Linked DNA regions of Homo sapiens: region 2 is linked to region 1. Evidence: promoter capture Hi-C in human tissues and cell types (Jung and others, 2019). All regions are on one chromosome and are shown on one strand. The core of a region is centred on a gene start or on the middle of the fragment in contact, and the rest is flanking DNA. Distances in the headings are between cores, read along the strand shown. Region 1 holds the start of KBTBD7 (kelch repeat and BTB domain containing 7). Region 2 overlaps KBTBD6-DT (KBTBD6 divergent transcript).

Region 1 (7,042 bases), core at 1,413-3,912:
AACTAATCAAAACAATCCACTGTGCAATGAATATTTGAACAATGAAAAAAACCTACCAAGCATCCTAATCAATTATATAGTTCTTGCTTCCATATTTTAATTCTGGACTTTCAGGATGGTAAATTATTAAACAGGTCGATTTCATGGACTGTCTAAACCTTGTAGTATTTCAAAATATTACCCTTTCTAAACCAAATCTGTGGTCCTAATCAACTTTTTTTCCAAGAAAAAGAAACGATATGTGTTTAAAATACATTCCGTAGCAGTAGAAACATCTTAGTGTCTCAAAATACTATTTACAAAGAACCCTGCTGATCCTGTGCATTTCGCTGAGGTGCTACTTGCACCCAGACTTCATCATCTGAAAAAGAACTTGAACTTCCTGACTCAGAGTCCAGCTCACTGAATCCATCTAAGTCCCATTCAGTACTAGACTCACTCCGTGCATCATCTTCCTCAGTAATAAAACTCTGACCAGGTTCAAGGCAGGAAGGATAAACACGAGCACAAAGGCAAATAAAGCCAGAGTCAAACTGCAAAAGGCCTAACATGGTACCTATATTAATCCACTGATCTTCCCTAGTATCATACTCATACACTGTCACTCGGTTCTTTTTCCATTGTGGGGTTGTAGAAGTGATGAGAAGCAACTTTTGGTCATGATTGACAATCTGGTAGTTGTGGGTCTCTGAATCCAAAGGAATATTACTAATCCGCCTCCATTCTCCCCTAGCTGGGTTGTAGACCTTCATGACTGGGATGTCACAGATACAATAGATTTCATCATTGAAGACACATGCTTCCTGAAAGTCACTACGTTTAAGAGAAGCACAGTTCAGCCACATATTGTGGCTAGGATCATAGCAAAGCATGCGCTTACTGTTGACAGCATAAAGATAGTTCTGAACCACTATGAGTTCAAAGGAATAGAAGGAATGAGGGACAGGAGCCACCAATGCCCACTGGTTTCTCTGAACACTGTAGCATTCCACTTCCTTCAACTTAACTCCAGTAATAGGGTCTCGTCCCCCCAAAATGTAGATGTAGCCATTGAGATATGCCACATCCATGCCCTCACGACACAGCAAGCGATCTGCAAGTTGCTGCCAACTATTCTGAGCTGGTTTATACACCCAGAGGTCTTTCCTGGGCTGAGCAGCTAGATAGATGTCATGGTCTGGGGACACACAGACAGCTGAGGAGGTGACAGTCTTAGTGTGAGCAAAGCTGGTCAAAGGGGATGGCATTGTGTAAATGTCCCCCGAGTAAGGGTCATAGCAGAGAAAGGGATCTCTAGGATGTCCAAAGAAGATCACCATCTCCTTGGCACACATACCCAGTCTCTGGGGTGGATTTTCTGCTGCAGATACAAGAGAGTTGCTGCTGCTACTGCTGCTGCTGCTGTTTGGCACTGGCACCAGAGACTTGTACAACAGGTCACCATAGCGCATCTGCAGGGCCCCTTCAATAACGTCCAGGCAGTACTTCTTCACGATGGGCTTGGTCAGCAGCCCTTCTAAGTAGTCCTGATCTTCTTCAGTGAAGTGCATCCAGCGCACGCACTTGAAGACTTCTGCAGCACTGGGACCCCGCTCTTTGGCAGCAGCCTCCAGCCACTGCACAGCTACATGGCATACAGTCCGCTCACTCTCTATGTCCAGACTATCCAGGCGTAGGACAGCCAGCAGCTGGGCCAGGGTTAGATCTGCTAGAGTCTCCTCCCGAATTGAACCCATTCGGCTGAGCTGCTTGAAGTTGTGAGCTATGTAGGACTGGGCCTGAGATCGAAGCTTGTGATGGTCGAAGGCGTCTGCAAACTTGAGGATGGCGGTGCAGTTGGTCAGGTCAAGACGTCGGGCTAAGAAGGAGGCACAGGCTTCCCGCACATATTCCAGCTGTAGCATGTCGGAGGCCGCGTACAGGCGCTGCACATTGGCCTCACTGAGAGACACACGACCCGTGTAGCAGTAGTCGACCAACACCTCGAAGGACTCGGCGTCCACATCGTGCATGGTCACGCTGGCCTGCTGGCTCTCGTACATGCCACCTGTGAACATGCTCTTGAAGTAGGGACACGCAGCTGCTAGCACGTTGCGATTGCAGGAAAAGAGGCGACCCGTGCCAGGCCCGCTGCCAGGCGTCACCACCTCGATGGTCACATCACACAGCAGCCGCGCGTCGTAGAAGGACTTGAGCTGTGCCAGCAGGGCTGCAGAATGGGCCGTGTCCTTTAACTCCTCTGGACCCGTGAAAAAGGCCGAAACCGAGGGCTTGGAAATCCTCTTGGGCCGCCTCCCACCACGGGGACTGGCGAGGCGGCGAGAGCGCGGGACGTCTTCCCGGGACTGCATGGTGGAGATGGCGACGGGCGCTGACGGCGAGAAAGGCTGCAGGACCAGGCTCTGGCTCCTCCTCAACCTTCCCTCGCTGACGCTAAGACAAGCCGCGTCCTGGAACAGACTGCGGCACGGGCCGCACTTCTGAATTCAGCCCTATCCCGCGGTGAGGCCTCCCTTTATTGCATAGACAGTGGCTGACTCACCCTCTCTCACTCCCGCGCCCTTTCTCCGCCTCCGCTCGCCCTCACAGGACCCGCTGGCTTGCAGCCGCGGAAGCCCCCACTGCCGCGCTGGCGATCCCGCTAGGCGCCCGGGAGAACTACTGCTCCCAGGTTGCCTTTCGCGCCCCGAGGCCTGCTGGGGCTCTCGGACGGCCGGGCGGGGACAGAGGGAAAGAAACCGCTTTGCATGTTGGGAGTAGTAGTTTGTGTAATATCGCGAGCTGTCCTTTAGTTGACTGCTCTAACAGTAGAAATTAATTCTCCTGGATTTGATGGTGAAGAGACTGTTGCCCAGGCTGGTCTTGAACTCCTGAGGGCTCAAATTATCCTCCTGCCTCGGCCTCTCAATGTGCTGGGATTACAGGCGTGAGCCACCGCCCCCTGCCAGTATTTCATAGGGTTTTGTGTGGTTCAATGATACCTTACATGGGATACTTAGATACATGTATGTTTTTGGTTAGAAGAATAGTAAAGCGTTACCCCGTGCCTAGAATGTAGCCAATAACTGTTAGATTCTCTTTTATAATTTATGATAAATGAGGCACCCACTAATTTGAAACCGAGTATTATTTTAAACCGCAAAATTTTACAAAGAATTTCTAGTTTTTAATGTTTATTCCTTCGAAAGATTTTGAAGGGCATTAACAATATTTTCAATATTAAATGATATCTATTGGTCTCGTTTAATAAGGATGTCTTAGACGACTAGGTTGAGGTCCTAAAGAACAGTATTAATAGATGGTCTCAAATACGCAAATCCAGCATATAAAAATAAATTATTTGCTGCTCTCACTAACATTTCATCTCTGGAGAGCAGGAGTATTTTCGTTAAGCTCCAAATATGAGTGTTTTCAAGTCGTCTAATACAGCCTCTTTCACTGCCGTTCCACAAATCAATTAACAGATTATGTAATTCCCTTTATTAAGGAGTTTTAGGGAGTATTTTAACTCAAAATATTTCAACAAACAGACTTTGTTCTGTACAAAAGCACATGATTCTCAGAATTCAACATCAGTACATGCCCTGACATTCCTTGAATTAATATATAGTATAGTCTATGCTTTACAAAGTCTTTTATATTTGCATTGGGATCAACAGTTAAATCATCAAAATCAAGTATTAGAGATTTGAGGCAGGAAAATAGGGTCTGGAGGCAGGGAACATAAGGCTGATTCACACTTTAGCTATAACAGGAAAGATCCTCTCCATAGGGTGTATGCTGAGTAAATGAGTTTGTAACTTTACTTCATTCTCTTCATTTACATAGGGTGTACACCAAGTAACCAGTGGAATCCTCTAGAGGGTATTTAAACCTTCAGAAATTCTGTAACAGGGCCCTTGAGCCCCTATGCTCAGGCCCGCTCCCCACTGTGGAGTGTACTTTCATTTTCAGTAAATCTCTGCTTTTGTTGTTTCATTGTTTCCTTGCTTTGTTTATGTGTTTTGTCCAATTTTTTGTCCAAAACGCCAAGAACCTGGACACCCTCCACCAGTAACAGACTTTTTCAGATAACTTTTATTACAAAACCATGACTGCTCCTGCTGCTAGTTTGTTATGTTACCATAACCTAATAAAGAAAATCATCAGTGTTACATGCATGTATGGATAACACATTACAAGAGAATAACTTTCAAATTGTTTTTCTCTTATCAGCTGAAGATAACTTCAACTTATCAGCTGAAGTCCACTGGAAATACTCTAGGGTAGACACATTAAATTAAGTCAGCCTCTGGGCTCTAATAACTCCTCTGTAAATAAAAAGAGATGTTAGATATCCCTCAGATACACCAGAGAGAATCAAGTCAGTCATTATCAGTAACAATGATTGTTTCCTGACTTGCAGTGAATACCAGCTGGGGAAAAAAGCCTTTTTTTTTTCTTTTTTTTTTTTTTTTTTGAGATGGGGTCTTGCCCTGTCACCCAGGTTGGAGTGCAGTGGCACCATAATAGCTCACTGCTGCCTCAAACTCCAGTGCTCAAGCAATACTTTGCCCTCAGCCTCCCAAGTAACTAGAGCTATAGATGCATACCACCACACCCAGTTAATTAAAAAAAAATTATAGACAGGGTCTCACTGTGTTGCCAGCCTGGTCTGGAAATCTTGGTGTCAAGCACTCTTCCTGCCTGAGCCTCTGAGTTGCTGCAATTACAGGCATGAGCCACATGCCCAGCGCAGGAATGGCCATTTTAAAAAACTTCTTAAAATATTGGTAAAATATACATAACACTAAATTTACCATTTAAACATTTTCAGTGTATAGTTCTTTAGCATTAAATATATTCACACGGTTTTGCCACTATCACAAAACTGAAGCTCTGTACCCATTTAAACAATAACTCTCTAGCCCCCACTTCTGGCAACTGCCATTCTACTCTTTGTCTCTATGACTTTTGACTACTCTAGGTACCTCATATAGGCAGTGACTGATTTTTACCTTCCTTATATCTGCTCTTACTGTGTTATTTGGTTTAGGTTACCTGTCACACAATTGAAGATATCTATTAGGCACTATTCCCTAAGATCTAGAGCTATGTGCTGTCCCATAAAACTTGGGAATATTTTATATTTGTGCTGGCTGATACAGTAGCCAGAAGCCACATGTAGCTCTTGGGTACGTGAAATGTGGCTAGTGCAACTGAGGAATTAAATTTAAAATTTTAGAAATACAGCATGATACCAATGCAATTCAATGAAGAAAGAAAATTCTTTTCAACAAATGTTATTGGAACAACTGGATCAAGAATGTAAGACAGAAAGTTGCCCTTGCCCCTACCTTACACCATAAGCAAAAAATTAATTCAAAATTTCTCCTAATACTAAATGGAAAAGTGGAAACTATAAAGCTTCAAAAAGAAAACATAGGGCCGGGTGCAGTGGCTCACACCTGTAATCCCAGCACTTTGGGAGGCTGAGGCAGGCGGATCATGAGGTCAGGAGATTGAGACCATCCTGGCTAACACGGTGAAACCCTGTCTCTACTAAAAATACAAAAAATTAGCTGGGCATGGTGGCAGACACCTGTAGGCCCAGCTACTCAGGAGACTGAGGCAGGAGAATGGCATGAATCCAGGAGGCGTAACTTGCAGTGAGCCAAGATTGCGCCACTGCACTCCAGCCTGGGCGACAGAGCGAGACTCCGTCTCAGAAAAAAAAAAAAAAGAAAAGAAAAGAAAACATAGAAGACTATAGCTTTGCGGTTGGCAAAGTTTTCTTGGGACACCAAAAACACAGATCATAAAAAAAAGACAAAGTGAATTTCAAAAGTGAATTTCAACAAAATTACAAGCTGCTGCCTATGGAAAGGCAGTGAAAACAACAAAAGATAAACCACAGACTGGGAAAAAATATTGGTAACATGTATACCCGGTGGCCAATGCACATTAAATTCACAATAAGAAAACACTGAATACCCACTAGAATGCCTTAACTTAAAAACATCAATGATACTATATATTAGTGGAGATATGGAGCCGTTGGAACTCTCATATGCTAATAATAGGAATATAAATTGGTATAACCACATTAGAAAATTCTTTTGTAGTTTCTTTTAATGTTAAACGCCGTGTAATTTCACTCCCAGGCAGTTGCCTCAGGGAAATGAAAACATATATCCACAAAAACACTTGTATAAGTATCTTCATAATAGTGTTAATGACAAAGCTGGTCCTGTGAAGATGAGATTTTTCCCTGTTCTATGTCATGAAGCCAAGATGCGAAACTGAAAGTGAGCATCAAGCAGTGCAGGTTTTATTCCATGGCCATGGATTTGAGAAGCAGGAGCATGGCTCACAAATCAATTTCTCAGCTTCTGAGAGCCGGGAAGTCATAGATATAGGGCATCTTTAATGAAGGGGATGGGTATTAAAAGCAAGGGGTGGGGCTGGGCACAGTGGCTCACACCTGTAATTCCAGCACTTTGGGAGGCCAAGGCGGGCAGATCACTTGAGCCCAGGAGTTCCAGATCAGCCTGGGGAACATGGTGAAACCCCGTCTCTACTAAAATACAAAAATTAGCTGGATGTGGTGACGGACACCTGTAATCCCAGCTACTCAGGAGGCTGAGGCAGGAGAATCACTTGAATCTGGGAGGCAGAGGTTGCAGTGAGCCCAGATCACACCACTGGACTCCAGCCTGGGCAACAGAGCAAGACTCCTTCTCAAAAAAGAAAAAGCAAACGGAGGAATATTCGTGTGTTTTCTTGGCATGTGTGAAGAACTCGGAAACCAGAGTGCCACATTACTTTTTGTCCTTTTATGGTTTCTTCTGATCATTGTCATGGTGATTGTCAACTGTCATGCAGCTGGCAGGAGTGTCATTTAACATAGAGATTAGATCATAATGAAGTTAGAAGTTCTTCAGAGGTCAAGTGAGCTGATATTTTGTCCACCAGTCTCTGCCAGTTTGGTCACAATGGGGAACTTCTGATCTCAGGCATAAGCAGAGTTAAGGTAGAGTAGAAATTCACTTAGGTCACTAAG
Region 2 (7,042 bases), core at 2,624-5,123, 33 kb before region 1:
CACCAAAGTTATTTTCTCATGATGCAAAGTAATTTAAGTCCCCCCAAAAGTAAAACAAAATCAGGTAACACAATGCAAAAGAGAATAGAGTTTTATTAGATATGAGTTAATTGGTCTGCTTACAACTCCTGGGATGACATGAAGAAAAACAGATTTCTTTCAAACAGAGAAGTCTTTGGTGCCTTTTCTGTCTCCCCAGTGGATCCCAGGCTGTCAGAAATTCCTTTTTTTCTTCTTTTTTTTTTTTTTTTTTAGGTGCTTCGTATGGCATTGAGGGTGGCAAGAGAAAGGAGGGACAGGCAGAAGTAAACGGAGAAACAATTTAGCTGACAAAAAGTTTTTACAAAGAGAGAACAGAGGCTTAAAACTAGTGTGTGTGTGTGTGTGTGTGTGTGTGTGTGTGTGTGTGTGTATACATATATACCCTAGATATCAGTTTTAGTTAAGTCTACTTTTGACTATTGAGCTCTTTTTAAAAAAACAAAAAACAAACAAACAAAAAAACACAACTTTGAAACTCTTATCACCAGATTTTTGCCATAACAAACAGCTGGTATTTGAAAAGTCATACAAATATCAAACCAGAAAGGACTCATTCTCTGGCCGGAAAACAAACCCAGGTCACCAAGGTGAAAAGGGAAGAACCTTAGCTACTGAACTACATCATGGGGTGGTGTCCATTGTTTTTCCTAGAGGGAATCTAAAGCAATTTTGAGCTTTCAAAGATTTTAAGCTTTTTTTATGTTAGATTTTGCTCAACCGAATTCTCAAGACTAGCCATTACACTATTATGTGTCCTTTTTAAAATTTGGTTTTCCCTAGCAACTCAATCCAAAAATCTCTCTGTAAAGCCCAGGTCATAATTTTCTAGGTTTAGAAAAAGTTTTTACATTCCTGGAGAGGGCAGAAGGGAGGCAGTCCCCATGATCCCTAAAAATTCACTCTTAGAAATAGATTTAAGATAGCAAAAGATGACAAAAACCCCATAGGGATGAGATCTTTTAAGAAAAAACTTCCCTAAGAAGTTGACACATTTGGAACAAAAAGTGTACTGCTTAAAATATTAGATGTCTTGGATTCCCAGTCTTTGCAGACTGGCTTCCTGATGTGAACCTGAAAATTCCTGCCCTCCAGATAGTGGAGACTAAGAGAGTACTCCCACTTGGTAAGAAAGTCAAGCTTTCAAGGACATAAAACAAAATGAGAAGGAAACCTCATCCAATTTTATTTCAGGGGCCCACAGCAAAATTTGTCTTAACAGGTACTTGGTATAGTCCGAACTGCAGAACTGACCAGTCTGCAGGGCCAGCTTGAACAGTGAGCATATAGGGGTTCTAGGCCCATGTTCTATCCTATGATACTTGATACTTTTTTTTTAGGTGCTTCGTGTGGCATTGAGGGTTTTAGGGTTATTGAAGGGATATTTATTCTGACAGATTTGGGGGCCCACAAGGAATTTCCTTGAGAGAAATTTGTGAGGGAGGCTACCTGGAGAGAGATGTGGCCTTCTATCATTGCAGCTTTCTGTTTAGGAACAAAAGGAAGGCCATTTTTGCATGAATCTGTTCCCAAGCTTTATGTTTACCTTTGGCATTGTGATTTGGGGGACTTAAGATTTTATTTTCCTTTTAGTTATTGTTATCTATAAAAGCTAAAATGAAAGTAAAAGAGAGTGCCTGGTTGGGGCTTGAGCCTGGACCAACCTCAGATATGGGTCTGTCTGAGCTCAGATTCTTAGCCTCAAATCTACCCACAAGGGAGAAAAAGTATGCCAGCACAACAGAAAGTACCTTTGATACTTGTGGGTAGTCAATGTGGCAGAAGGGCAAAAGCAAGCAACAGTTGAAACCATAGGGTATAGTATGAAGGAATCATTCCATTTTGTACAACAGTATCAGCAGCTCCCTGAGGAACTTTTACCAAAATGGATTATGAGAGTAACTAATTTGGAAGCAGTGGCTTTGGTTTGAAATGCTGCACAGTGGAAAAACATGTTTGGGTGATGCAGGACCCACAGGTCACTATAGAACAATTGCAGATTCATATATATGATCCAGACACATAGGTTATTCCTGAGAGAAGAACTGGGCTGGTGGACTGGATAAAAGCCACTGTAAGATCTTTTTACCCCGAAAAGGGGGTCTGTTCAACTCCCCCTGTAAATACCAAGTTGGGTAATTCAGATGAAGCATGTGCAAGCCATGTGGGATTGGCTTTATGAGGACCAGTATATTCACCCACTGAATATGCCTGTTACCCAGGTTATGGTAAATGCTGTGGTTAAGGGGACCCCTTCTACACGGGTACTGTCAGGCCTCTGAGCCCAAGCCAAGCCATCGCATCCCCTGTGACTTGCATGTATACGCCCAGATGGCCTGAAGTAACTGAAGAATCACAAAAGAAGTGAATATGCCTTGCCCCACCTTAACTGATGACATTCCACCACAAAAGAAGTGTAAATGGCCGGTCCTTGCCTTAACTGATGACATTACCTTGTGAAAGTCCTTTTCCTGGCTCATCCTGGCTCAAAAAGCACCCCCACTGAGCACCTTGCGACCCCCACTCCTGCCCACTGAGCACCTTGCGAACCCCACTCCTACCCGCCAGACAACAAACCCCCTTTGACTGTAATTTTCCTTTACCTACCCAAATCCTATAAAACGGCCCCACCCTTATCTCCCTTCGATGACTCTCTTTTCGGACTCAGCCCGCCTGCACCCAGGTGAAATAAACAGCCATGTTGCTCACACAAAGCCTGTTTGGTGGTCTCTTCACACGGACACGCATGAAAGGTACCACATGTAATGACATCACTCCTGAAAAATGGAACAAGAGTCCTAGAAGCCTTATCAAACTTGTTGTCTCAGCTTTCCTTGATGGGTCTTACAGGTATTAATTTTAAAAGTTAGGTTAATTAACAAGAACATGGTGAAGGTTAGAGCAGAGAGTCAAAAGACTCCTCCCAGAAGGGTGTAAATTTTTAAATGTTTATTAAGAAATAAGATGAATAGTCTGGGCACAGTGGCTCACGCCTGTAATCCCAGCACTTTGGGAGGCTGAGGCAGGTGGATCACGAGGTCAGGAGTTAGAGACCAGCCTGGCCAACATGGCGAAACCATGTCTCTACAAAAATACAAAAATTAGCTGGGCGTGGTGACAGGCGCCTGTAATCCCAGCTACTCAGGAGGCTGAGGCAGGAGAATCGCTTGAACCCGGGCGGTGGAGGTTGCAGCGAGCCAAGATCACGTCATTGCACTCCAGCCTGGGTGACAAGAGCAAGACTCCATGTCAGAAAAAAAAAAAAAAAAAAGAATACAGAGAGCATTGATAAGGGTGAAACTAAAAGGAAAAAGAAAGGGGAGAGTCATGGGACTCATCCCAGCAGGGTAAACATGTTTAAATAGTTATTAAAAATGGGATAAATAAAACAAATTGATGGGGTTAAAACAAAGGTCTTAATACAACACTATCAAAGAGGGAGCCCTGCCTGTCTACAAACATTATAGAGCCCAAATCAGTTTTCTGTATTTGCCCCAGATTTGTGAAATTTAAGAAAAAAAATCAGAAGGTAAAGATTACAGTGAGAAAGCTGACCAAAAATTGGGGCAATGTTGAGGCAGTTAATCAAGATAAGGATTGACCAATGAGCCCAAGTGCCTTGGCTCAGCTCCCTGTTGGGAACTCAGATCCTTTTTCACAAGAAAGGGTAAAATGGTCTAGGGTGGAGAAAAAGTTTCCTGGGACTACAACATAAAATGTAAGGGTCAATAGGATTTTAAGAGTTAAAATGTTTGAACAGGCTTTATGTAAAGTAGCTGTGTCTCCTTTACCTAAATGTTTTCTGGGAATGGACATTGTATATGACTGGAGGATGATTCCCCTTCCTAGTACTGTGAACTAGAAAGCATGTAAATCTTCCCTTTGAGCAATACTAATTGGACATGCTCAGTGGGAACCAGTAAGACTGACCAAGCCCACAAAGTATAGAGTAGAAGCTGAAGTGCTGGTAGGGAACAAATTATCCACTGGATAGCTCCTTGTAGAATTTTTATTGGGGCTTATGGCAAAAGTCTATGAGCACCTTCACTAGAGAATTTTCATTTGGGGGTATTTGCTGCCTTGTAATTGGATGTTAGCTGAAGCTACTGCTATGATTGAAGGGCATAAAATGGCCTTGACACCTGAAATAGTAATGTCTGAATGTCAGAGAAACACTCTAATGAGGATAGCAGCACCCAAAAGGGTCCCACCAATAAAATGGGAATGATTTGTGTAGTATCCTGCTATTTGAAGGATGCAAGGAGGAGATAGGAGCAGGGAGTCTCTTTTTCCCTAGGAGTCACTCTGAAACTGTGTGAGGGGCTGCTGGATTCTACAGTGCCCAATAAACAGCTCTCACCTGACTGACAAAGAGCTGCTTGGTTTGTGGATGGCAGTTCCAAGGTGAAAGGACAATATCCTGTTTGGAAGGCTGCTACTCTAATTGTAAAGTATACTATTGTGAACAAAATTTACCTGTCTCTCTACCTGATATCTCCAAAACTGGAAACTATTCATATATTCGTATGACATGGGAATACAGTTATTTGCATAAGTTCAGTAAGAATCTGTTTTCTTTTGTAACAGGACACAATTGGAGACACAGGTTCTTCTATCAAGGCCTTGACTGGAATGGCATATTTTCAGATATGACCACATTGCTTTGAGGAAATGAGGCTGATGTTGCAGAGCTGATAAAACCCCCACAGAAAGGCCAGCCTACCTCTGGTAAGTAAAAAATGTCACTTTCTGGCAGGCCCAGGAACCTCAAGTTATTTTTGGGCCTCAAGAAGAGAGGAATACACCCATTCATACAGGTATGACAGGCACAATCGGATAGCGAATCCTTGACTTGGTTAGCCTCAGGGCTTATAGAAGTCTAATCTGAGATTCCTTATGAAAAGTGTCCCAGTGAAGCCATCTTAAAAGGAGCCAATATGGCCAATCCCTGCACTTTATGCAAATAGTCAGGTCAAGTTAATGAGACTAAATTTATTTCACAAGTAAATTGGCCCTACTTTGATTTATCCTTAGTAGAAATGGGAAAACTGTTGAGAAAAACTATGTTTCAGAAGAAAACTATAGTATGCTCATTATTAGACTGTAGCCTTAATGATTGTTTCTGAGTTTTATTATTTGCCTATAATTCAAACTGAATCCTGAATTATTTCCTGGCTACAAATTTCTAAAGAAAAACCGAGATTTAATTGTCTTCATGCCCTTTTTTATTATAATCCTTGTGTGCATTATATTTCTACTATTCAAATTATTAATGTTATATATCTCTACTTTTACTTCTTCCAAGAAAACCAAAGTCACGGTATTCCAATGACTAGAGATGACAAACCAAAGCCTGTGAATCTCCCTAATTTGGAATGCTACTGGGTCTGATCTGTTTTCCCTGCCAACCCACTGCTGCTAAAGTTGTGCAATGTCAAGCACTTTCCCTAAAGGCCCAGAAGAGGAGGGTGTGTGAGATTAAGAGGGATGGAGTGTGGGGGCTAAAGCAACTCCATCTTGGATGTTGATCTGCCATATTGAGTTCTGATTAACCCCATTTCCAAAAAGGCCTCTAAGGTTTTTTTTTAATTATTTATTTTGCTTACTGTTCCTTGTGTAAGATCATGTACTTACCTTAAGTCCTGCCCTTGAATAATTTTCCTACACATCACTTCTGTATCACATATACCCTTTCCCCATGGTATATAGGCCTTGGTTCTGGGTGTAATGGCGTGGGGATCCACCAACCTGTCTCCACACTACCTGAGACACAGACATGGTTTCTATTCATAAGTCACTATTAAATGTTTCTGTCAGGTGCAGTGGCTCACACCTATAATCCCAGCACTTTGGGAGGCAAAGTAGGAGGAACACTTGAGGCCAAGAGTTCAAGACCAGCCTGAGCAACATAGTGAGACCCCCCTCCTCCCTTTACAAAACACAAAAAAGTTAGCTGGGCATGGAGACACATGTCTCTAGTCCTAGCTACAGAGGCTGAGGCATGAGGATTGCTTGAGCCAGGAGTTCAAGGGTGCAGTGAGCTGTGATCATGCCACTGCACTTCAGCCTAGGTGACACAGTGAGAGCCTGTCTGGAAGGAAAGAGAGAGAGAAAGGAAAGAGAGAGAGGAAGGAAGGAGGGAAGGAAGGAGGGAAGGAAGGGAGGGAGGGAGGGAAAGAAAGAGGGAAAGAGAGAGAGAAAGAGAGAGAGAAGAGAAGACAAGACAAGAGAAGAGGCCGAGCATGGTGGCTCACGCCTGTAATCCCAGCACTTTGGGAGGCCGAGGCGGGCGGATCACGAGGTCAGGAGATCGAGACCATCCTGGCCAACATGGTGCAACCCTGTCTCTACAAAAAATACAAAAATTAGCGGGGCGTGGTGGCGCATGCCTGTAATCCCAGCTACTCAGGAGGCTGAGGCAGGAGAATTGCTTGAACTAGGGAATTGGAGGTTGCAGTGAGCTGAGATCATGCCACTGCACTCCAGCCTGGTGACAGAGTGAGACTCTGTCTCAAAAAACAAGAAAGAGAGAGAGAGAGAGAAGAAGGAGAAGGAGAAGGAGAAAAAGAAAAGGAAGGAAGGGAGGAAGGAAGGAAGGAAGGAAAGTTTCTTCCTGAGAAACTGGATATGTAAGCCTCTTTCTTTGAATTCTCCGCTTCCTTGGAATTTAGTGGTTGGTTTGCATAGGCTTGCTCACTGTGAAATTCCACTGTGTGGAATTGGTGATTGAGGTGAATTTCACATAATGTAAAATTAACAATTTTGAAGTGAACATTTTATTTGCCTTTGAGGTTAATCCTTGTTGTAGAGTGTATCAGTACTTCATTCCTTTTTATGGCTGAATAATATTCTATTGAATAAATATGCCACATTTTGGTTTTTTTCACTCATCAATTGATGGACACTTGGGATGTTTCCACCTCCTTTTGGCTATTGCAAATAGGGCTGCTATGAACATTAATTCGTGTACAAGTATTTGTTAAAATACCTGTTGCCAATTCTT

The links. The method cuts DNA at HindIII sites, captures the fragments that hold promoters and counts their contacts. A contact is called where the count stands out against the background at its distance.
Region 2: a fragment that was not itself captured here is called in contact with the fragment with the promoter of KBTBD7 in region 1 in 1 of the 25 tissues and cell types used here (pancreas).

Annotation. Positions count from the first base shown.
Region 1 is chr13:41,191,907-41,198,948 of GRCh38, forward strand. It overlaps KBTBD7 (kelch repeat and BTB domain containing 7), which reads right to left and starts at 2,663. Exons shown (of 1, transcript NM_032138.7): 1 at 1-2,663. The coding sequence starts at 2,351. The coding sequence ends at 297. All of the region lies in intron 3 of KBTBD6-DT (KBTBD6 divergent transcript), which reads left to right. RefSeq lists enhancers at 1,405-2,112, 2,113-2,819, 2,164-2,433, 2,744-2,833. The HindIII fragment of the contact is 7,226 bases long and covers 1-6,541 here.
Region 2 is chr13:41,157,637-41,164,678 of GRCh38, forward strand. It overlaps KBTBD6-DT (KBTBD6 divergent transcript), which reads left to right. Exons shown (of 4, transcript NR_120423.1): 3 at 4,627-4,767. Among named protein-coding and RNA genes, the nearest start is that of KBTBD6-DT, 28 kb to the left of the region's middle. The HindIII fragment of the contact is 7,292 bases long and covers 228-7,042 here.